4 separate regions of the Homo sapiens genome follow, and regions 1, 3 and 4 are each linked to region 2. Evidence: promoter capture Hi-C in human tissues and cell types (Jung and others, 2019). All regions are on one chromosome and are shown on one strand. The core of a region is centred on a gene start or on the middle of the fragment in contact, and the rest is flanking DNA. Distances in the headings are between cores, read along the strand shown.

Region 1 (3,119 bases), core at 532-3,031, 1.5 Mb before region 2:
CAAAAACAAAAATTAGCCAGGTGTGGTGGTGGGGCCTTGTAGGCCCAGCCACTCCGGAGTCAGAAGTGGGAGGACTGCTTGAGCCAAGGGGGTTGAGGCTGCAGTGAGCTGTGATCACGCCACTGCACTCCAGCCTCGGAAACAAAAGATCCTGTCTCAAAAATAAAGAGGGCCGGGTACGGTGGCTCAAGACCGTAATCCCAGCACTTTGGGAGGCCGAGGTGGGAGGATCACCTGAGGTCAGGAGTTCGAGAGCAGCCTGGCCAATATGGCGAAACCCCGTCTCTACTAAAAATACAAAAATTAGCTGGGCATGGTGGCGCGTGCCTGTAGTACCAGCTACTCGGGAGGCTGAGGCAGGAGAATCACTTGAACCCGAGAGGGGGAAGTTACAGGGAGCCGAGATTGCACCACTGCACTCCAGCCTGGGCGACATACCAAGACCCTGTCTCAAAAAATAAGCAAATAAAATAATAAAGTGAAGTAAAAAGGGGTTGTCAGGGTGGGCCCTAAATTCTGCTTGGCGTCTGTGTAGAAGGGGAAATGTGGGCACAGACGTGATGCAAGGAGGACAAGGTGACGCTTCCACAAGCCAAGGAACCTGGAGGATACTGGCCACCACTAGGAACTGGGAGATTCCCCTCGGCCTCAGAAGGATTCGGCCCCACCCACACCTTCATCTAGGATTTCTGGCCTCCAGAACTGTAGAGAATGTTTCTGATATTTAAGCCACCTGGCCTGTGGAATTTTGACAGCCACTCTGGGCAAACTAGCAGGGACTCCATCTTTCCCCGCAGAAGGGAATCTCTTAAGACCCAGGAGAACACCCCCCTCTCACTCCTCCTACCCCCACCTGGGATTTCCAGCCCGGGGCCATATAACAATGCTAGACCCATGCTACTCTTGGCAGCTGGGGAAACGCTTTGGGTGGGGCTGGCCCACCTGCCCTGTAAGTACAGCCTGGGCCCACAGGGAACAAAGAGCAGAGTCTGGGAGGGACCCAAGCTTAAGTGGACTCGGCAGGTGGGAAGGGTGGTGCCCGCCAGGAGAACTTGACCTTGAGCTGCCCGTGGACAATGCACTCTTGTGTTTGAGGAGGGTGGCGCCAGGCTGGGGACACAGAGGAGACCTTGGGCGCCCGGGGAGGGGAAAGTGCGGCGCTGCGGGTGCCCCGGGCTGCGGGAAGCGCCGCTGGCTTCCCTAGCCCCACTCACTGATGGAGAAGGTGCCGGGCTCTTCCCGGACGACTCTGCAGCGCTCCAGCAGCAGGGCTCCGACGGGCTGGAGGAGACACGGGCGCCGGGACGGGGCAGTGAGCACCCGGCCTCCGAGGGGCCCAGCCTGGGACCCGCCCGCGCGCCCGGGACGCCCCTACCTCGGCCTCGTCTGTCCGAAAGTAGAAGAGGAAATTCACCACCAGCTTCACCAGCCGCCGCTTCAGCACTGCGGGCACAGCGCGCACTCAGGGGCGCAGGCAGCCCCCGCCCGGACCCCGGCCTCCCGTCCCCGGCGCCCCGACCCGGACTCCGGCCTCCGGCACCCCCGCCCAGACCCCGGCCCCGGCCTCCCGCCCCTGGCACTGTCTCGGTCTCCCGGGTCCCGCTCACCGCTGCCCTTCTTGGGGCCCCTCATGCCCAGCTCGGCCGCCATCTCGGCCGGCTGCCGGGACAGAGCCTGCAGCTCCTTCTCGTTGTACCGCATGGCTCCGCGGGGAACGGGAACCCGGGCCGCGCCCTCCCGGCCGCCGTCCCCGCTCAGGCTGGGGCCGGCGCCAAAAATGTCTCAGGGCGCAGACACGGAAGCACCCCCAGGGCTAGTGCGCCTGCGCACCTTGGGCCAGCCATGCCGCCCGCCTCCGCTGCGTGGCGCTGGCGACCCGTGGCTGCTGGCGTGGGCGGGGTACCGGTTGGTAGGAGAGACGGACCGTTGTTACATAACCATTAAACTGAAATAAACCGGACCAAGGTGGAACAGAATCAAGGCACCCCAGCGATGGCTGGCACCCCTTTCTAGAGCGGCCAGGCGCAGGCGGAGGGAGCGATAACGTCGCCCGGAGAGTGTCAGCCGCTCCCTCGCGAAAGTTGGCCCCGTGCGGCCGCAGCGGACCGAGGGTTCGTTGAGAGCGTTGTGCGCACGCGCAGTTTGCCTTCCAGGCCGCGCTTTCAGCCTCTCCCCCTCCAGCCTTTTCCTTCGCGCCTCGGGACCCTCTGACTCACGCCGCTGGGCGGGCCAGGCATGCGCACACCAGAGGGCCCGTCTCATTTGCCCCGGAAGTGCTTTCTTTGCCCGCCGTTCGCCAAACGAAGTCGTGGAGGTGGCGAAACGAGGAGGAGATAACGCGGCCTTGGGCTCTGGTGAGGAGTAGAGGCGGTTGAGGGCGGCGGCCGACGCGGACCGGGGGTTCCCTGGGGGACAGCGGACGTAGGAGAGAGGCGCTTGCGACAGGCCGCGGGCCGAGGGTGGGGCGGCGGCGTCGCTCCCCTCCCTCCTCCCGTGAGCGTCCGGCCTTGTGCATCCTGAGGCCCCGCGCTGGGCGGGCCTGGAGGGTCGGGCCCGCCAGGAACTCTATTTCCAAACTCCTGTTGGGAGGCCGCGCGCGGGGCCTCACGCCTGTAATCTCACTGCTCAGGGAGGCCTTGGCGGGAGGATCGCTTGAGGCCAGGAGTTCGAGACCAGCCTGGACAACACACCGAGACCCCCATCTCTACAAAAAATTTTAAAAAATTAGCCAGGAGTGGTGGTTGTACCTGTAGGCCCAGCTACTCGAGAGGATCGCTTGAGCTCGGAATGTCGAGGCTGCAGTGAGCCATGATCCCACCACTGCACTCCAGCCTGGGCAACATAGCGAGACCCCATCACTGCAAAAAAAAAAAAAAAAAAAATTAGCCGGGCGTGGTTGGTGACGCGCGCCTGTAGTCCCAGCTACTCTGGAGGCTGAAGCGGGAAGATCGCTTGAGTCCAGGAGGTCGAGGCTGCAGTGAGTTGTGATTGTGCCGTTGCACTCCAGCCTGGACAACAGAGCAAGACCCTGTTTGACAAAATAAAAAAGAAACAACCAAGATTCGTTGGGGTCGAATCGGGATCGCGGCTGAAATGGTTTCGGCCGCCTTCCTTGTAGC
Region 2 (3,183 bases), core at 262-2,761:
CGAAGGCACAAGAATGTCCCTGGGCCCCTCCAAGTCCATGGCTGGAGGCCCCGAAGGGGATCGGGAAATTGTGGGGAAGTCCATGCCTGGACTCCAGGCTTAGGCCGGCATCTTCAGGCAGCTGAAAGAGAGAGAGTCAGCACTGAGGTTTCGCCCGGGTGCAGTGGCTCATGCCTGTAATCCCAGAATTTTGGGAGGCCCAGAAGGGCTGACTGAACCCAGGAGTTCAAGATCAGCCTGGGCAACAGAGCAAGACCCTCTCTCTACAAAAAATACAAAAAATTAAGGCCGGGCACAGTGGCTCACGCCTGTAATTCCCAGCACTTTGTGAGGCCGAGGCGGGCAGATCATGGGGTCAGGAGTTTGAGACCAGCCTGACTAACATGGTGAAATTCCGTCTCTACTAAAAATACAAAAAATTAGCCAGGTGTGGTGGCAGGCACCTGTAATCCCAGCTACGCAAGAGGCTGAGGCAGGAGAATCGCCTGAACCCGGGAGGCGGAGGTTGCAGTGAGCTGAGATCGCGCCATTGCACTCCAAGGTGGGCGACAGACGAGACTATCTCCAAAAAAAAAAAAAAAAACTAGCTAGGGGTGGTGGTGTAGGCTGTAGTCCCAGCTACTTGGGAGGCTGAGGTGGGAGGATCACCTGAACCAGGGGAGGCAGAGGCTGCAGTGAGCCTTGATTGTGCCACTGCACTCCAGCCTGGGTGACAGAGTGAGGCCCTGTCTTAAAAAAAACAAACAAACCCGAAAAACAAAAAACTTGAGGTTTCCCGGCTGCCTATCCGGTGCTAGGCTCTAGCTGGGTACTGTTCATACAGGGCACATAATTTAATACCCACTAACCCTTGCAAGGAAGTTAGGATTCCCATTTTACAGATGAAGAAACTGAGCCACAGAATGGGGAGGTGTGAGGCAGTGGCTTCCCGAGCCCCTGTGTCATCCCAGACCTCTCTCAACTAATGGAGTCTGTTCACTCCAGCCCTGGTTCTTCCAGGTCCTCCTCCCTCAAGACGCGGAACCCAGGCTGGAGACCCAGACCTCACACCCTGACTCTACCGACTGGTCAGAGGCAGTTCCCCAAGACCCCAGACCCAAGACCCCAGTCCCATGACCTCAACCCCCAATACCTCCATCCAGAACTTTAGACCCAGGACCCTGGACTTAATACCAGAGACCCAAGACGCCATAAGGCGGACCCCAGTCTCCAAACCTCCAATGCTACCCCAAGATCGACTCCAGACTCAGACCCCGACTTCAGGACCCAGCCCCAAGCCCAGACCCTAGTCCCCCCTCAGACCGAAGACCTCAAGCGCCGACTCAGACTGCGCTCTGCACCTCGAGGACACTCACTTCCCAAATCGAGGCCGCCTCAGCCCCGCGCAGCCTCCAGGACCCCGCTCCCCACGGACGGCCCCGACGTAGCCCGGGCCGCGTCCCCAGAAGGCGCAGCTCGGGGATTCCCGGTCCCGGCGCCCGCTCCTCTATCCGCGCAGAGCCCTGGCCCATTGAGCATGCGCGGCCTCGCGAGGCCTGCTGGGAAATGTAGTTCTCCCACCCAGCCTCGCCACGCGGGGGCGCTGGGACAACTGCAGATGTTGGAGGGGAGTTCGAATCCCAGGCTTCCCGGCCCGCAGACTGCCCCGGCTGGCCCCAGGACCTGTTTGTTCTCCTGCAAAATAGGGTTAATAATCACTGCCTGGCTCTGGGGGCTGTGTTCATTATTCCAAAGGATGGCAGATGGGGAGAAGTGGGGTTGGGAAATATTAAAGAAGTGTGAGAGGTGGTTTCCTTGGGACCTTGAGGCACCGGAAGCGTCGTGGAGACCCTGTTAAAGACGGACTTTCGGTTTGGCTCACAGTAGGGAGACACATAGGTGCACCATGGATTTGGGGTCGGCCTGGGAACTTTACCTCCCTGAGAACTCAGTTTCCTCATTATAAGCTGGGGAAAAAATAGTACCTACCTCTCAATTGTGAGGATTAAATTAGATCAAGCGGGTTAAGGATTTAGCAGTAGTAGAGCTGGAAAAGAATATATAAAATATATATTATTAATTTATATATTATATATAAAACATACTATATATTATATGTATTATATATGTTATATATAATTTTAAAAATATAATGTTATAAAAATTAACAGTGATTAGACTCCAGCCCTACTGGAGTATATTAGACTCATTGTTAATCTTCTTTTTTTAACTTTAAAGCTTTGAATAATTACTCATTGGATGGAATCAGGAACATATAAAGTGTGATATTTTTAGTAAATGTTATGTAATTGAAGAAGGGCAAGAAGTCAATGAAATATCCCTTGAACGCCTCCTCCTATAGTAACTGTGTATGTCTACAAAAGTCTGAAGAAATCACCATAGATTATGAAAGCTTGGGAGACCGCATTTCCCAGACACCTCCACGGGGCCTACACTTCCACGGGGCCTACAACTCCCAAACACCCTTGGGCCACTGACGTCTTCCGGAAACGTGCACTTGCAAGCTGCCCGCAATACGTCATGGCGACCAAACGCCTTTTCGGGGCTACCCGGACGTGGGCCGGCTGGGGGGCCTGGGAGCTCCTAAACCCCGCCACTTCCGGAAGACTCCTGGCCCGGGATTATGCCAAGAAACCAGGTGAGCTGGGTTAAGAGGAACCAAATGGGGACGGTGGGTGCACTGAGGAATTGACAGTGCGCAGGCGGTGGTTGGGGAGGTGGTGCTAGAACTGATGCGCAAGCGCAGAGAGGCGGATGCCAGGCTGTATGCGCAGGCGCAGTTTGAGGGACCCAGCGCCGCTTGGAGCTCGGGCGTCTGGCTCGGAGATACTGTAGCGATTGGACCCAGGGCGCAGGCGCCAGCTTGGGGCGGAGCGGCCTGGGAGGAGGATGTGGTTACGTGGAGACCACGCGTTTCACTGCGCAGGCGCGGGTTGGAAAGGATTTGAAGGGAGTCTGGGGAGGTCATGAACTTGGGTTCCAGTTCTGTTTCTCTGCCTGCCTCCAAATCGCTGGGTAACCTTGGCCAAGACGTTACCAAACATTCAAAGAAATTATGGAGCCCGTTTAATTGGCCACTTCAGCAAGAACAAAACAAGGTTATTAAGGTTTAGCTGGATACAGCCTTGCCTGATCTCCTTTGTTGAAAGGGGGAAATTGTCCAATGTTCGGCCTTAAAGACAG
Region 3 (3,333 bases), core at 181-2,680, 1.2 Mb after region 2:
TGTTGGCCAGGCTGGTCTCGAACTCTGGACCTCAGGTGTTCCACCCGACTCGACCTCCCAAAGTGCTGGGATTACAGGTGTGAGTCGCCCGAGCCACAGCACCGGGCCTGGCCTCCTTTTCAATTGCTACATAGTAAGTATTCCAGAGTACTGATTGCTATTAAGTTACTTCTCTAATCCCCCACTGATGGATAGTTAGTGCAAAACATTGGAAACAGTTGCAGACAGCCCTGCCGCCGGCATTCTTGAATTGTGTAAGCTCCAGACCTTTTTTCTGGGTACATCACCTCCAGGAAGAACTGCTGGCTGGGTTATCGGGTGGTGGATGCACTTAGAATGTTATTAGAAAATGTCAAATTGCCCAATTTACACTCCTGCCACTCCAAATGGGGGCATGCCTCACACCCCTGCGTGGTCCAGTACACAATGAATGCTCATTTTGTGAAGTCACAGGGTCAAATCTTTCTCCGTGCCTCATCCCACTTAATCCTTGCAACATTCTCAAGAGGCGGGTAGACGGGGTGTGGCCACTACCATCATATCCATTGCACAGTTGGAAACAGACTCAGCGAGGTTACTTTGCTGGAGGTCAACCACAGTGAGGCATGGGGCCCGGCTTAGCTTTGAATCCAGGTCAGAAAGCACCAAAGCTCATTCTCTCCCATACATTTTAGGGAACTCGGGGAGAGGGACCCTAACTATTCCGAAGGCCTTGCCCCTTGGCAAAGGTTTGTTGATTGTGATGGGAATAGACCTACGGTGGCGGGGTGGAGGCTCTTGCTGCTTTACCCTATGTTCTCGGTTCTCCTCCTTTGCAAAACGGATCGCTATGTCTCCTTGCTTGGCACTTTGCAAATTGGGGAACGCTAAGCCCACATTCCGGCCACGGGTTTCGAACCTCCAGCCTGCACGTTCCCGGCCGGTGCTGATGCTGTGCTGGGTCTCACGTACTCAGCCGCCGCCTGATAACCAGGGCGGGGCCCGGAGCTTGCGGGCAGTGATTGGCACCTGCCCCAGCCTGTCCGCGCCTCGGGCTGGCCCCTCAAGCCAATACTGGCTCCTCTCTGTGCGGTCGTCGGGCGGGCCCTGAGGCTCCCTTGTCAATCCAAGGCCCAGCTGCCGTCGGGTTGGTCGCGGCAGCCTTGGCTGGCGTGCGCCCCCTCCAATGAGAACAGAGCCGGTCAGCGGGCACGTGGGTGGGCGCCGGCGTGTCCCCGCCGGTCTGCCAATGAAGAGGCGAGGCCGGCGTTTGTCCCCGCCCAATCGCGGCGCGCGGTGGGCGGGCCGTGCGGTGTTGATGGGCCCGGCGGAGGGGAGGGGCGGAGCTGTCAGCTCCGGCCAATGGGCGCTCGGGCGTGGATCCGGCAGCCAATGGCAGTCGGGGCGGAGCTGGCGCGCGGCCTTATAAGCCCCCCCGCGAGCGCTTGCGGAGGGCTCGGTCGCCAGCAACCGAGCGGGGCCCGGCCCGAGCGGGGCCTGGGGGTGCGACGCCGAGGGCGGGGGAGAGCGCGCCGCTGCTCCCGGACCGGGCCGCGCACGCCGCCTCAGGTGAGCCCACGGGGAGGCCGCCCGGCCGTGTCCGAGCGCGGACCCCGCCGCCATGGCCGCCCCCGCGTCGCGGCTCGGGGCTGCGGGCGCGCCCGGGACTCGAGGCCCAGGCCTCGGGCGCGGCCTGCTCGGGCCGGGCCTCGCGCTTTGTCCGGGCCGGCGGGGCGGTTGGGGCGTTAACCGCCCGGCCCGGGGGCGCCCGCTGGTTTTCGGGCGGGGGCGGCGGGGCCGGACAATGGCGGGGCGCGCCCAGGGGCGGGAGCGGGGGCCCCTTCCCGGGCCGGGGGCGCGCGGGGGCTGGGCACAGACGGCCCCGGCGCCCCGCACAAAAGATGACAGCGTGGGTGGCCCCGGCCGGGCCCTTTTATCACCCGGGACAAGCCTCGGCCTATTATTATTATTATTTTTGAAAGAAAGCAAGAAAAAGGAAAAAGACCCCAGCCCCTGGGTAACCCCCGCCTGCGTTTCTGGCCCTTTGGGCGCCAGGGGGGCTAAGGGGAAGCCCCCCAGCTGGACACCCAGGGATGCCCCCTAAATGCCTATCATTGCTCCTGCACTGCCCCCACCTCCGGTCAACCTGCTATGCCTTGGTAGCTTCCAAACTTGCCCCCCTGTACGTACCCGAAACCCCCACCCCGCCATAAGCATATGCAATCTGGATTTTAGAAAAAAATCATCTTGCTATGCAACGGCAGCCTCCACGAGTCTCTCCGTCCCTCCCCCTTCCAGCCTGATCGCCATCTCGAACGAAGCCCCTGCTCTAGAGAAATGAATTGAGGAGTTGCTTCCGCCGAGACCCCTTTTCTGTGTCCCCCGTGGACATCCCCCTGGGAGCTGGGGACGGACTCGCTCTGAAATCTGCTTGACCTGGGGTCTGCCAGGGCCCAGGTCTGCGCTCAGTGGTGGCCATGACAATCAGGCAGGACGGGGGACTCTGTCCACCTGGGCACGGTGGAAGGTTTTAAGGGGCATGTTTTCCGCCCCTGGGGGCAGTGGAGGCATGGACTGCTTTTGGGTGCATCCCATCTGTTTGCTTGGGGGAGGATGCTTCTGTTTTAATAATTTACCAGCACCCTGTGAGGAAGTGTTCCCCGAGTTGTGAAACTAGTGAGAAGGTGGTTCAGCTCCGTGGAGCCTAGTGATCCTGTCATATGTGAAGAGCGTCTTTTTCCATGTGTTTCTGGCTGGGGCGTGTATTCAGCAAGTTCCTTTGGGTCCCACCGGGTGCCTGCACTGTCTTGGGATCTCTGGATACTGGACTGAATTCAAGGGATCGGTGCCCTGCCCCAGTCCTCTGCCTCAATGGCCATTTATCAGAATGTCCCCGGGCTGGAGAATGCTCCTAAAAACAGCACCAGTCCTAAAGCAGGCTCATTAGACGACTCCTATGGGCTTTTATCACTGCCGTTATGGGAGCTAATGACTCCCCTAATTCTCCAATAATAGCTTCCTTATGAGCCACCAGGAGGGTTTGTCAACACACGGGGTCAGCCTTCTCCTGCAGCCCCTGCTGAAGCAGTGGGCATCCTCTCTCCGCTTTGCAGTTTATGTTTTGAAACCCTGAAGGTCGGAGCGTAAAGCCGTGGTAGAGTCAACTTCTGTCTGAGCCGAGGATTTCTGGGACTTGCCAGCCTCGTCTCCGTGTGTCTGATTGGACACCTGGCAGGTCCGGGCGCTCCCCCTCCTTGAGCCGGCGACACCAGGACGGGTCAGACTGTCCTGGCCTAGAGGAGGTCACCGCTGGGGAGGAAAAGGGGGTAACGGAGATTCTGCCGCACAGACGGG
Region 4 (3,367 bases), core at 766-3,265, 1.9 Mb after region 2:
AAGGCGGGAGGATCATTTGAACCCAGGAGTTCAGGGTTGCACTGAGCTATCATGGCACCACTGAACTCCAACATGGAGTCCAAAAAGTAGGACTGCCTGAGCCTCCTATTGCTTGGACTTGGAGAAAATAACATCCCTTATAAACAGCACTTGGCAAAAACAGAATTGTCACTTTAACATTTCTTTTAAAAGCAGCTTATACAGTAAAAGTCACATTCCACATGACATGACTCTCACCATCTTACCGAAATCTCTCTTGCCCATCCCCCACACCCTGTGCTTTAGTCAGGCCCCAAACACGTGATTTACTCTCCTGGTTCTCTGTGACTTCGCTCCGCCCACCCTTCCCCATCTGTCTGCCTTAGAGACCTAGTTCCTCAAAAGACAACTGATCCATCCCACCAATAGCAACTCGTCTCCTTGGGTCCTCTGTCCTCCCGTGGCATAGTTCCTTACCCCTTGGTTTAATATTTATGTCATCTTGCCTTCTGTCAAGAGCAGATTGATGAGGACTAGGGCTGTGTCTTGTTTATCTTTCTTTCCCCTTCAATGGTTTAACTTGGTAACACTCAACTATTGGCTTAAGAAAGAATCAGCTGAGGCAGGGCGCCGTGGCTCACACCTGTAATGCCAGCACTTTGGGAGGTTGAGGCGGACTGGTCACCTGAGGTCAGGAGTTCGAGACCAGCCTGGCCAACATGATGAAACCCCGTCTCTACTAAAAATATAAAAATTAGCCAGGTGTGGTGGCGGGCTCCTGTAATCCCAGCTACTCAGGAGGCTGAGGCAGGAGAATTGCCTGAACCCAGGAGGTGGAGGTTGCACTGAGCCCAGATCGCACCACTGCACTCCAGCCTGGGCGACCGCAAGACTCCATCCCCCTAAAAAAAAGAATCAGCTGAAGCTGGGCTTGTAGACCGAATGTTCTCTTGGTTCATGTAGAGTTTTCCCTATCTGAAATGCTTGGGACCAGAAGGGTTTCATTTTTTGGATTTTGTGCGGTATTTTCGTACGCATAATGAGATAATCTTGGGATTGGGGCCCAAATCTAAACAAGAAATTTGTTTCTTATACACCTGAAGATAATTTAATACCATATTTTTTATAATTTTGTGCATGAAACAAAACTTTCACTAATTCCACACATCAGGTGTGGAATTTTCTACTTGTGGCAATATGTCAGTGCTCAGAAGGTTTCAGTTTCAGATAGGGTTGCCCAACCTGTAATTGAAGGCCTGGTTCTCAGGGCCCAAAACTAAATGAGATAATAACTAATACTTGGTGGTGAAGTACTGGGTTTAAATATCTGAGAGTCAGGCCCCAGTGTCAGCCACAGTGTTTGGGGTAAGTGCTGGGAGAACAGCAGAATGAAGTCACTTCTGTGGCTCATGATACATTGCGTGTTTTTGCCTTTACTCAAGTATACTTCTGCCAAGGCAAAGAGTCCTGGAAAATCAATGGAGAAAGAAATAATAAAAGCAAAAAACAGAGCCTGTGGATCTCCTTTTTTGTTTTCCTTTTTCTTCTGATAAAAGCAAATACTTGTACTACAGGCTTTTGTTGCTGTTTTTGTTTTGTTTTTGAGGTGGGTTCTCACTCTGTCACTCAGATGGAGGGTAGTCGCGCAGTCATAGTTCGCTGCAGCCTTGAACTCCTGGCCTCAAGCAGTGCTTTCACCTCAGCCCCACAAAACGTTTAGATTTCAGTTGTGAGCCACTGCGCCCGGCAGGTTTTAAAATACGTGCATGGGAGTAAAAAGCAGAAGTTGTTCACAGTCGGGACAGCCCACTACTAAAAGTTAGGCATACTTCTCCAGACTGTGTGTGTATGTACAATGTTTAAAAGTAAACTTAGGCCTGGGTTACAGAGCAAGACCCTGTGTCTAGAAAAACAAAAAGTTAAATAAAAGTCAATGAGCTGGGCATGGTGGCACACACCTGTAGTCCCAGCTACTAGGGAGGCCAAGGTAGGAGGATTGCTTAAGCCCAAGAGGTCAAGGCTGCGGTGAGCCATGAGTGTGCTTCTACACTCCAGCTTGGGCACAGAGTGAGAGGGGGAAAAAAGTAAATATATAGGTATGTGCACACACCTGTATGCATATTTTTTTCATTAAAAAAACCCGTGATCTTGCTATACAAAATCTCACTGTTTTTTAACAGGCTAATAATCTTCTGTATGAATAAATACACAATTTAGCCCATCAGTCTTTTTATTACTAGACGTTTGGAGATTTTTATTTCCAATTATCACTCGGTACTTCCAACATTCAGTGTTTGCACGAACCAGAGATAAATACCTTTGTGTGGTCAAAGTAATATAATTTTTGATAACTTAGTGAAAGGAGAATTCTAGACTCCAAGGATATGGCCCTTTATTTTCACATAGCTAGTTTACAAATAGCTGTCCCGGCCAAGTTCAGTGGCTCACGCCTGTAATCCTAGCACTTTGGGAGGCTGAGGTGGGCGGATCAAAAGATCAGCCTGGCCAACATGGCAAAACCCCACGTCTACTAAAAATACAGAAATTTGCCAGGTGTGGTGGTGGGCGCCTGTAATCCAAGCTACTCAGGTGGCTAAGGCAAGAAGATAGCTTGAACCTGGGAGACTGAGGTTGCATTGAGCCAAGATAGTGCCACTGCACTCCAGCCTTGGCGACAGAGTGAGGCTGTCTCAAAAACAAAAACAAAAACAAAAAGCTGTCCCAGGTTGTACCCTACCAACAATGGGTGACGGTGCCTATTTCACTAAACTCAACATCAAACTTACCTTGTTTGCCTGTTACCTTGTTGCCTGTTATATAGAAGAAAAGTATTTCATTGTATTTATCTGCATTTTTCTGCAGGTGAGATTTTCGTTTGCATTTCTTCACAGATTATACTCTTCTGATAATTGGACATTTGTGTCGTCTGAATGGCCTTTTCATGCCCTTTGCCGATTTCTGTGCTGGGTTGTTTGTCTTATTGAGTTATAAAGACTCATATAAAATGTTTCTATTGTTTTAATCTGTCATTCAATTTAATCTGATTCGACTTGTGGTATTTTGATCACTAGGCTTCTAGATTTTATGTTACGCTTTAAAAGGACTTCTTTGCTTTTAAATTATTAAAAATATGACTGTAAGGCCAGGTGCGGTGGCACACGTCCGTAATCCCACGATGCAGGTGGATCACCTGAGGTCAGGAGTTCAACACCAGCCTGGCCAACATGGTGAAACCCTGTCTCTACTAAAAATACAAAAATTATCTGGGTGTGGTGGCAAGCGCCTGTAATCCTAGCTACTTGAGAGGCTGAGGCAGGAAAATCGCTTGAACCCGGGAAGCAGAGGTTGCAGTGAGCCGAGATCACGCCACTGCACTCCAGCCTGGGCG

What was found. The method cuts DNA at HindIII sites, captures the fragments that hold promoters and counts their contacts. A contact is called where the count stands out against the background at its distance.
Region 1: the fragment with the promoter of PLEKHJ1 here is called in contact with the fragment with the promoter of APBA3 in region 2 in 1 of the 25 tissues and cell types used here (hippocampus).
Region 3: the fragment with the promoter of KDM4B here is called in contact with the fragment with the promoter of APBA3 in region 2 in 1 of the 25 tissues and cell types used here (heart right ventricle).
Region 4: a fragment that was not itself captured here is called in contact with the fragment with the promoter of APBA3 in region 2 in 1 of the 25 tissues and cell types used here (dorsolateral prefrontal cortex).

Annotation. Positions count from the first base shown.
Region 1 is chr19:2,234,548-2,237,666 of GRCh38, forward strand. It overlaps PLEKHJ1 (pleckstrin homology domain containing J1), which reads right to left and starts at 1,782. Exons shown (of 6, transcript NM_018049.3): 1 at 1,608-1,782; 2 at 1,376-1,443; 3 at 1,215-1,281. The coding sequence starts at 1,701. It overlaps SF3A2 (splicing factor 3a subunit 2), which reads left to right and starts at 2,277. Exons shown (of 9, transcript NM_007165.5): 1 at 2,277-2,354. MIR6789 (microRNA 6789) reads right to left here and starts at 1,379; the gene lies at 1,282-1,379. RefSeq lists enhancers at 7-586, 589-1,197, 1,806-2,414, 1,993-2,042 and silencers at 1,223-1,852, 2,463-2,562. The HindIII fragment of the contact is 10,839 bases long and covers 1-3,119 here.
Region 2 is chr19:3,760,181-3,763,363 of GRCh38, forward strand. APBA3 (amyloid beta precursor protein binding family A member 3) reads right to left here and starts at 1,512. Exons shown (of 11, transcript NM_004886.4): 1 at 1,356-1,512; 2 at 1-121. The coding sequence starts at 84. MRPL54 (mitochondrial ribosomal protein L54) reads left to right here and starts at 2,502. Exons shown (of 3, transcript NM_172251.3): 1 at 2,502-2,638. The coding sequence starts at 2,521. LOC105372248 (a long non-coding RNA gene) reads right to left here and starts at 2,460. Exons shown (of 3, transcript XR_936268.1): 1 at 2,378-2,460; 2 at 1,969-2,026; 3 at 1,574-1,674. RefSeq lists a silencer at 1,397-1,714 and an enhancer at 2,376-2,865. The HindIII fragment of the contact is 13,428 bases long and covers 1-3,183 here.
Region 3 is chr19:4,967,683-4,971,015 of GRCh38, forward strand. KDM4B (lysine demethylase 4B) reads left to right here and starts at 1,431. Exons shown (of 23, transcript NM_015015.3): 1 at 1,431-1,548. RefSeq lists silencers at 895-994, 1,305-1,604 and an enhancer at 2,871-2,920. The HindIII fragment of the contact is 14,440 bases long and covers 1-3,333 here.
Region 4 is chr19:5,627,369-5,630,735 of GRCh38, forward strand. All of the region lies in intron 2 of SAFB (scaffold attachment factor B), which reads left to right. Among named protein-coding and RNA genes, the nearest start is that of SAFB, 6.0 kb to the left of the region's middle. The HindIII fragment of the contact is 7,366 bases long and covers 1-3,367 here.